Regions from separate parts of the Homo sapiens genome. Here region 2 is linked to region 1. The links are contacts of gene promoters, found by promoter capture Hi-C in human tissues and cell types (Jung and others, 2019). All regions are on one chromosome and are shown on one strand. The core of a region is centred on a gene start or on the middle of the fragment in contact, and the rest is flanking DNA. Distances in the headings are between cores, read along the strand shown.

Region 1 (5,244 bases), core at 2,574-5,073:
TTTTTGTATGTTATCAGTCATAATTATGGCTACTATGTAAACTTGTTATAGACTACAGAAAAAAACAAATTTCCTTGTCAATCGCATCATTGTTGTAAACTCTTACCAGGTCTTTCACCATAGCCATTCTAAATCTTGTTGTTCGTAGTAAATTGCTTTATTCTAATGTTTTTTCTAAATGATCTTTGCAAGCAAATATAATCCTAAAGCATTGTGTCTTCAAAGAGGTTTATGAGAAGGATAAAAAGTCTGATACATACTCTGGAATACAGGCCTCTGTTGATTATTAAGTTGGACTGAATAAGAACTTGAGAAACTCCAATGGTAAAAACTGGACTTAAAATTGCTAATTTATCAAGTAGAACAAAAATTAATTACATGGGACGGAACTGATGAGGACTGAAATGATTTTAATGACTTTTTTGCTTGAAACGTTGCTTTTTATTATTATTTTCTTTCAGAGTTAAGAAAACTTTTTTTCTCTGCATTATCTGTAGTTTTATAGCAATTTGGTAACTTTTTGGTATATTTTGTGAGTAAAATTGAAATATTTATCTTTCTCTCTACCTGATATCTCCAGAATTAGGAAACTATTCATGAGTATTCTTGTTTTATGGCAATATTATTTATTTGTATAAGCTCAAGAGGAATCTGTTCTTGTAAAAGAACACACTTTTGGAAACATTGGCTATTAAAAAGGATGTACATCGGCCAGGCGTGGTGGCTCACACCTGTAATCCTAGCACATCTAGAGGCCAAGGCAGGAGGATTGCTTGAGGCCAGGAGTTCAAGACCATCCTGGCCAACATTGTGAGACTTTGTCTCTATAATAAAATTTTTTTTTAAAGTAAAAAAAAAAAGGACGTACATTGTATCAGTCAGGGTTCAAAGTGGGAAGCAGAACCACTAAGATATAATACATATCATCTATATCTATATCTATATCTATATCTATATATGTGTGTGTGTATGTCTATACATATATATATATTTTTTTAAACAAAGAATTGGCTTATGCAATGGAGGGGGCTGGTTAACCAAGTCCATGGTCTGTAGGGCAGACTATCTGTCAGGAAGGGAAGAACCAGAAAATGGAGAGCAGTTATAGACCCAGCTGCTGTTTGGAGTTTGACTCAGGGCATGCCCATCTCTTTATTATTATTTTTTTAATTTTTAATTTTTTAAAATAGAGACAGAGTTACACCATGTTGCCCAGGCTGGTCTCAAACTCCCTCAAGAAGTCTGTCTGGCTCGGCCTCCTAAGGTGCTGGGATTACAGGGTTGATCCACTTTGCCAGGCCTAAATCTTTTTAAAAGGATTTCTACTGATTGAGTCAGGCTCACCCAGGATAATCTTCTTAGATCAATGTCAATTGACCAGGGACTTGAATTGAGCTGTAATCTCCTCACAGCAGCCCTAGATTAGTGTTTGATTAATGACTGGGAGAAGGTGGGTATATCATACACAAGATTGCTGCCTTCTCTTTAGTTCTTCTAATTTAGCCTAACCAAATTGACATTCAGGCTAGATATGGTGGCTCATGCCTATAATCCCAACACTTTTAGGAAGCTGAAGCAGGAGGATTGCTTGAGTCCACTAGTTTGAGGCAAGCCTGTGCAACATAGTAAGACACTGTCCCAACAAAATATTTTTAAAAATTAGCCGATGTCGTGGTGTGTGCCTGTAGTCCCAGCTACTCAGGAGGCTAAGGTGGGAGGATCCCTTGAGCCCAGGAGTTTGAGGATGCAGTGAGCTATTGCTGTAGTCTCAGCAATGCACCAAGATGTAACAGTTTCTCATTGTCTGAGATAACACCTGGAGTTATTTGTCCCACCTCCAAGATGATTAAGGAGCGCAGACCCAAAGGTTAGTTTAGAACGAACGTTTAATAAGAGAAAGAAGAAAGCTCTCTGCCAGCAGAGAGGGGGACCTGAATGGGGTGCCCCCTATGAGGCTGGGGTCCAGGGTTTTTATGGACTGGGAAGGGGAAGGAATGTGCTTCGTCCCCCGACCCCGCTACCCTGGGGCTTGGCCTGGTACTAATCAGGAGCTGAAATGATGATTCATAGATGCTGCTTAGCTTGGCTCGGGACCTATCAGGAACTGAAGAGAAAGTTTGGCCCTGGACCTTGGCCCAGGACAAATCAGGAGCTGAAGTGATGATTCCTAGAAGCCGGACTTACAATCCAAATAAAGGAAAGTAGAGTGCCCACTGGAACCTACTGGAGCCCACTGTGCCCATACCCACAAAAGGAAAATAAACTTTTTTTTCCCTGGGAGCCCATTGACTATACAAAGGACAAAGGCATTTCTTTGTTCCTTTATGTGAGTGAGGAGGAGGTCTGTGCAAGTTTTTGTCCAAATGGGCTGGAGATTTTTCTATCTGTGGAGCCGTGGGCATGTCTCCAGGCACAACACCCTGTGCTAGTTCCCTTATTGGTGCCTGCCGCTTGAATTTTTTCCCAGGCTGCTTTTTATGTTATGTGGGGATGAGGCACTGACCCATGGGCTGGGGGTTCTCTGGGGACCCTTCCCTTGCTATCTACCTAATGCAAAATCTAGCTGACTCCTTTCACTATGATGGTGCCGCTGCACTCCAGCCTGGGTGACAGAGCGAGAGCCCTGTCTCTAAAAAATAAACCCTAACAAATTGACATTAAAAAAACTGTCTAATCTGTCATAGGACTGAGTTTAAAAGAGAAAAGGTGGCATGGTGCAGTGGTTCACGCCTGTAATCCCAGCATTTTGGGAGGCCGAGGTGGGCGGATGACCTGAGGTCAGGAGTTCAAGACCAGCCTGACCAACATGGAGAAACCCCGTCTCTACTAAAAAAAAAAAAAAGAAAAGAAAAAAAATTAGTCGGGTTTGGTGATGCATGCCTGTAATCCCAACTACTTGGAAGGCTGAGGCAAGACAATCACTTGAACCTGGGAGGTGGAGGTTGTGGTGAGCACTCCAGCCTGGGCAACAAGATCAAAACTCTGTCTCAAAAAAAAAAAAAAAAGTCACATTATTTATACAAGTATTTTATTTTCTACAGAAAGATAATTTGCTTTTACAAACTACCAGGAAGTTTTACTTGTTCATTCACTCGCTTAAATGACATTTTAGAGCACCTACTCTGTGCCAGACACAATAGTGTAGGCTGTACTCTCATTAAAAAAAAAAAAAAAAATTACGTAGCAACTGGCACATAGAAGGTGCTCAAATATTTGTTGAATGAATATGCTGTTAACACACCGGCAGTATTCACTTCCCTAATTTAATTTTGGCACATAGTATTCTCGTAGGCTATTATCATTTAGATGTAGTATGCATTGTGCAGCTTCAAACAGCAAAATTTCACATCTTTCTCCCAGCATACCACTAAATTCACACACCTTAACCTGTTTGATTTTGCCAAAGAATTCCTGGAAGTGCTGTGTCAACAAATAGCAAATCTAGAAGCAAGATAAATTATATTGCTGATTAGTTACAATATTTACAGGGTGTCACTAGGGGACATTTGAAGACTTGATTCTCTTGCTGAGAGTGTTTCCATAAATCTGTTTTCCAACAGATCTAAATTTCCAGTCTTGCAGTTTTCCACAGTTTGAAGATTCTAATTTCCTGGTCCCCTTCCCAGGAAAGGCAGTTAGGTTAAAACAAACAAACAAAACCTCACACCCCATTTACTTGAGTAACGAATTATTGTTGTGACAGGTAATCCTAACCCCTTGCAGCTTGGCAACTGCCTCTCCAGGCAACCTTCACCCAGCCCCTCCAGCTGGGGCCGCCACAGTTTCCATGGCGACGACGTTGTTTCCAACCGGTCAGCGACCGCCCTTCTCCAGCTACTCGTTTGAGAGCCGGTGGCGTTCCGGAGGTTTCTCCCTCGTTATCCCCCTGCCTTTCACCTGAGGAGAGGCTCTGACTGTCTCTCTCTCTCTCTGGCGTCTGCGCAGCGGGGAAGTAGTGAGAAACAATCAGGTACTTGTTCTCTGCTGTTCTCTTCCTTTCTCTCCCAGGGCAGGTATCGCGATTTGGGTGCCAACTTAAACACTCTTTCAAGGCAGGAATCTCCAAATCCTGTAGGCATTCATGGCAAATATAGTTGTTATCACAGTACAATTTTTTTTTGAGACGGAGTCTCGCTTTATCGCCCAGGCTGAAGTGCGGTAGCGGGATCTCAGCTCACTGCAACCTCTGCCTCCCAGGTTCAAGCGATTCTTGTGCCTCAGCCTCCTGAGTAGCTGGGATTACAGGCGCCTGCCACCACGCCCGGCTAATTTTTGTATTTTTAGTAGAGATGGGGTTTCACCATGTTGGCCAGGCTGGGCTCGAACTCCCGACCTGAGGTGATCCGCCCACCTCGGCCTCCCAAAGTGCTGGGATTACAGGCGTGAGCCACCGCGCCTGGCCCACAGTAAAATTTTTGAGCATTTACATGACATTTTATATTTGCCATGCATCAAGTATGCCTATTTTTTGCTTGATCATAGCATCACTTTCTTGGAAGGCAGCAAGACTAAGATATCATACTGATGTTTAAAAATATTAATGATTGGCTGGGGGCGGTGGCTCACGCCTGTAATCTCAGGACTTTGGGGGACCGAGGCGGGAAATCATCTGAGGTCAGGAGTTCGAGACCAGCCTGGCCAACATGGTGAAACCCTGTCTCTACTAAAAACACAAAAAAGTAGCTGGGCGTGGTTGCGCACCTGTAGTCCTAGCTACTCGGGAGGCTGAAGCAGGAGAACCACTTGAACCTGGGAGGCGGAGGTTGCAGTGAGCCAAGATCGCGCCATTGCACTCCAGCCTGGGCGACAGAGCAAGAATCTGTCTCAAAAAAAAAAAAAAAAAAAAAAAAACCATTAATGATGTTAAATATCAGCTTTTACTGGGAAGGGGATCATCCCTCAACAACTGGATTTGTTGTGGTGGTGGTGGTAGTGGTTTGCATCTCGGGAAAATTTTGCACCCAGAATGCTACAGCTGTAGGGATATTTACAGAGCATCTAATTCAATTCCTTAGTTTCATCCATTAGGAAACAAGCCCTGAAGGGGAACTGACTGGCTCATTGCTTCATAAGTGAGTTTTAGAGTTCTAACAGGAATCCCTGCCAACTTACCTCAACTGTCATTCTTTAGACTAATACCATACTTGGGAGGAAGATCCAAAAGTGTCTAGAATTTTACTTTTGGTATTGATATGTTAGATATGTTATGAATGTGTCGAGGCTTGCTGACATAATAATGGCTTT
Region 2 (5,288 bases), core at 961-3,460, 220 kb before region 1:
AATGGAGCCAGGATTCCAATACCAGTAGTCCAACTCCAAAATCTTTGACTACACTGCCTCCCTTAAGGCATCTGCCTTCAGTTCTCGACTACCCCCAAAGAACTGACAGCAGCTCTATTTTCTTCCCCCCAATTTTGTCAACTTCTGGGTTTGCATTCCCAGAATACATCACTCTCTTTCAGGCTTTTCTGCCTTAAACATATGCTTCCAGCTAGAATGCATTGCTCTTTTTTATCCAGCTAGCAAAGCCCTACTCACTCTTCAAACAGTGGCTTAAAAACAACTTTCTCTGTGAAGCTCTCTTCTTTGCTCCCACATTTTCTGCCCCCAATCCTGGGGGAAGGAATACATCACTCTCTTAGCTCCCTGGAAACAATGATTCACAGATGCTACTATTGTTTGACTTATTTGTATCGTAATTATATTTTTCCAGGATTATGTGCTGGACACCACACCGCACTGCAAGAATGAGACACTCAGATACTAAAGACTAAGAATGCATAATGGCCCCAGTTTGGGTTCAGCTACAATTTAAATGAATACTGTCTTCTAATCAAACTAGTACAGTTCATCCTAACAATACTTTACTGCTTCTATGTATGTGCCTGCATACATCAAAGATTCCTTGGTAAGTAAAATCAATCTTATGCTGAACTGATTGAGGTGCAGATCGAGACTTTTAAACTATATCTTAACCATTTCTCTCAATTCTCACATTAATACTCTGGCACTACAACTTCTCAATAACACCAAAATTGTGCCTAGAAACAAATATTTCAAGATTGGAAACGTACTATCTATATACTACATTTGTTAAAACAAAGGTCCAACCAAGAGTAAGACATTCACAATAAGGAAGCAGAGAGAAAAATCAAACTATATGGTACTTCAAAAGTTGCTCTGTTAATCCTACCTACCTTGAATACTCACTCACTGTCTTCTACTTCCTATATCCCAAGCTGCTTTCACTAAGCTATTACTTCATCTAACATTCCTTTTTGGGCCTAGGTGCGGTAGCTCACCCTGTAATCCTAACACTTTGGGAGCCTGAGGTGGGAGGGTTGCTTGAGCCCAGGAATTTGAGACCAGCCGGGCAACATAGTGAGACCTTGTGTCTTAAAAAAAAAAATCCAGCCGGGCGCGGTGGCTCATGCCTGTAATCCCAGCACTTTGGGAGGCCAAGGCGGGCGGATCACGAGGTCAGGAGATCGAGACCATCCTGGCTAACACGGTGAAACCCCATCTCTACTAAAAATACAAGAAACTGGCTGGGCGTGGTGACAGGCGCCCTGTAGTCCCAGCTACTCAGGAGGCTGAGGCAGGAGAATGGCGTGAACCCAGGAGGCAGAGCTTGCAGTGAGCCAAGATCGCGCCACTGCACTCCAGCCTGGGCAACAGAGCAAGACTCCATCTCAAAAAAAAAATAAAATAAAATGAAAATCCTTTTTGGAGATATAATTCAAACACCATACAATTGCCAATTTAAGTATACAATTCAGAGTTGTGCAACCATCGCCACAATCAATTTTACATTTTCATCATCCCAAAAAGAAACTCGTACCAATTTGGCAGTCATATCCTATGTTAGTCAAGGCTCTAGAAAAACAGAACCGATTGCATGTACATTTATATAGAGAGATTTATCTAATGGAATTGGCTCACGCAACTGGGGTGGGGGGTGCTGGCAAGTATGAAATTGGCGGGGCATATCATTAGACTAGGGATTCAGGGAAGAGCTGTTGTGTAGTCTTGAGTCCAACAGCTTTGTGAGGGCAAAATTCCTAACTTCAGGGGGACCTCAGTCTTTTTTTTTAAGGCCTTCGACTGATTAGAGAGGCCCACCCACATTATGGAGGGTAATATGCTTTACTCAAAGTATAATGGTATAAATGTTAGTCACATCTAAGAAATACTTTCACAGGAATATCAGGTTGGTGTTTGACCAAAAGTTGGTCAAGTGAAAAACTGATACCACAGCCTAGCCACACTGACATAAAATTAACCATCACATTCCTAATTACCCTCAGCCCCTAGAAACCACCAATCTTTGTTTCTATGAATTTACCTATTCTACACATTTCATATAAACAGTTGCCCAGGCTGAACTTGAAATCCTGGCCTCAAGCAATCTTCCTGCCTCAGCCTCCCAAAGTGCTAGGATTACAGGTGTGAGCCACCACACCTGGCCTGCTTGACTTTTTATGAGAATGTATTCCTGTTATTTGTATAAGTAAAAAATAAGAAAAGCTTGAAAGTCTATATTGGAAAATCCTTTCTGCTTGGCTCAGCTAGAATAAGTCAGTACTTATATATAAATAAAACTGTAAGCCTGAAAATATTGAGAAAATCTTAACACACAGTTTCTATGTGCTTAAATTTAAAATCCAACCCAAATTGTATACTTGACAAAAGATACAGTACTAACCACCAAACACGTCCATATTTTCAAGTGCCTATATAAGCTTTCCTTCTTTTCTTTACATTTGTCAGCTACTCTCTTATAAAGCATGAAAAATGTACATGGCCAAACAAGTTTTTCCAAGGCTGTTTCATTCATTTTCATATATACCCAAAGCCAAATCAGTTTGCCTGAATGCAAGCCCAAGAAAAAATATTGTATTTCTAGGAGTAGTAGAGGTAAGTTTTTAAAAATGTTAGCTGACTCAGAGAAATAATTAACTTGAGTTATTTCAGTCTTTGAAAGTCCGTAATATGACAAGTTTCGGTTATACATCAAAAAGCAATAGCTTAGATTACCTTTCAAGAGAGCAAAAGACAGATTTTCATAATAATTGCTCAGTCCCTAAGAAGACAGTTCAGAATAAATGTCTAATAGTTGGCTTTCATTTTGGGGGGAAAAAAACTCCCATAGTTACCACTAGATGATCTTGTACAAATAACCTCTAAACATCAAACTCTTTTTGGACAAAAGCGAGCCAGACTGCAGCTGTTTTACTTACCTTCTAAGAGTGTTATATAGACCAAATGAAACAAGAAAGCACTCTGATTATTCTAAAACCTTTTAAAATTATTTTGTGTGAAATTGTAATAGTTCATATATATAATTTCATATCACCAATCACAAGATTTGGATCTACGATCCAAAAACACTTAGCAAAATGTTTTGCAAACTGCAAGCTCTCAATAAATAATGACTTATACAAAGACTACATATTGATAATTGAGTCCATGATCTCAAATTGAGAACTAACTTGAATGACTTTCTGCCCTTTAACACTGCACAGGTTTGCAGAAATACAAACCGCTCCATTGTTCACATTTCCCTCATTCAAACATGAATGTAGTGCCTATTCTCTTGCTCTCAAGAGTTCACATCTGATGGGACAGTAGTACATTTGCATCATAGTTATTTTGTTGTTTATGTCCCATAATGAAATTATATACAGGCCGGGTGCAGTGGCTCACACCTGTAATCCCAGCACTTTGGGAGGCTGAGGCAGGTGGATTGCTTGAGGCCAGGAGTTCGAGATCAGCCTGGGCAACATGGTGAAATCCCATCTCTACTAAAAATACAAAAATTAGCCAGGTGTGCTGGGGGGTGCCTGTCATCCCAGCTACTTGAGAGGCTGAGGCAGGAGAACTGCTTGAACCCATGAGGTGGAGGCTGCAGTAAGCCAAGATCACACCACTACACTCTAGCCTGGGTGACAGAGAGGGACCCTGTCTCAAAAATAAAAATAAAAATAAATTTAAAAAAAAGAAATAAAGAAATTATACACAAAGTTAAATGGAAGTATAGAGGAAGAAGCAATTAATTCTTCAGTTAAAGGGAGTCAGGGAAGGTTTCACATTGGAACTGAGCCTTAAGGGATGACAAGAAGAGGTCATTCTAGAAGACAAAACAGCAAAAAAAGGCACTTGTTCTAGAAACAGTGAACACTGTCATACAGCTAGTACACAAAGTTTGGGGTGAAGAAAAAACAGTAATAAAAGAGAGAGCTAGAAAAAAAGAAAATAAGATATAGATTTTAATGCTAAAAATTAATGAGGCAACGTCAAAGATTTTTAAGCAAAGGTGTAACTATTTATCTACCTATATAGTGTCAGTAAGAGAAGCATGTACCTGAGAAGAGGAAAGAGTCTGGACTGTAAACTTAGAACGTTTCAGCCGCTAATAAATGCCACCATTTTTCTTGATTCAAGTAACTATGAAGTAACTGACATATATTAAGAGTTAACTTCACAATCTTTTCACTTAAAACTCTAAATGACATTCTCTTCCCTACTTACCAAAAAGAATAAATACTAAGCTCTAGCAGAAATATCACTTAAGAAAACCAGACAGGTAGACTGGGTGTGGTGGCTCACGCCTGTAATCCCAGCACTTTGGGAGGCTGAGGCAGGCGGATCACGAGGTCAGGAAATCGAGACCATCCTGGCTAACACGGTGAAACCCTGTCTCTACTAAAAATACAAAAAAAAAAAAAAAAAAAAAAAATTAGCCGGGTGTGGTGGTAGGCGCCTGTAGTCCCAGCTACTCAGGAGGCTGAGACAGGAGAATGGCGTGAACCCGGGAGGCGGAGCTTACAATGAGCCGAGATCGCGCCACTGTATTCCAGCCTGGGCAACAGAGCAAGACTCCGTCTCAAAAAAAAAAAAAAAAGAAAGAAAATCAGACAGAAGCCTAAAAGGGCAAAGAGTGAATTTAACCTAAGGAGTAATGTCAAAGAACTAAGTGGGAAAAAAAATGCTTTAAGTATATACACTGTCGATATTTTTAACAATTTGAAATCACAGATAAAATATTTTATCAATTTCCCACTATTATGAAAAATAATATAGAGGGAAATGAACATGTGCTTTAAAGATATAATCTGGCTTCCTATACATGTTCACATTATGTGTCTTAAATACAACTTGTCAAGTAAAAGACTTTCTCACAAACACCAGCACCCCTTAATGATCTTTATACTTCTGTCAACAAAAAACTTAAGTATCTGTTAAAACAAACATACAAACAAATAAAAAGTAAAAGAATGTATGACCTGCCATTCTCCCAAAAGCTGAGGCTAGGATCTTTGTGGTCATGTTTAGATGTGTGGAGGAAAAAAGAAGAAACAATCTTGGTTGTCAAATTCAGCAGGCTCTTCACAATGTCTTCCTTACAATGTCCTTGGAACATGCCGTATCATCCCTGCTTCTTCCTCCCACCCAAAACTCCTTTCCCTGACTGACCCTAACTACAATCTATCCCTTAACCCCATATTTTTTTTTAAGATGGGTCTCACTATGTCACCCAGGCTAGAGCAATCATAGTGCACTATAGC

Evidence for each region. The method cuts DNA at HindIII sites, captures the fragments that hold promoters and counts their contacts. A contact is called where the count stands out against the background at its distance.
Region 2: a fragment that was not itself captured here is called in contact with the fragment with the promoter of DNAH12 in region 1 in 1 of the 25 tissues and cell types used here (dorsolateral prefrontal cortex).

The regions. Positions count from the first base shown.
Region 1 is chr3:57,542,923-57,548,166 of GRCh38, reverse strand. It overlaps DNAH12 (dynein axonemal heavy chain 12), which reads left to right and starts at 3,823. Exons shown (of 74, transcript NM_001366028.2): 1 at 3,823-3,970. RefSeq lists an enhancer at 3,685-4,235. The HindIII fragment of the contact is 14,626 bases long and covers 1-5,244 here.
Region 2 is chr3:57,765,337-57,770,624 of GRCh38, reverse strand. The region is part of intron 2 of SLMAP (sarcolemma associated protein); the gene reads right to left. Among named protein-coding and RNA genes, the nearest start is that of SLMAP, 12 kb to the right of the region's middle. The HindIII fragment of the contact is 4,536 bases long and covers 1-4,478 here.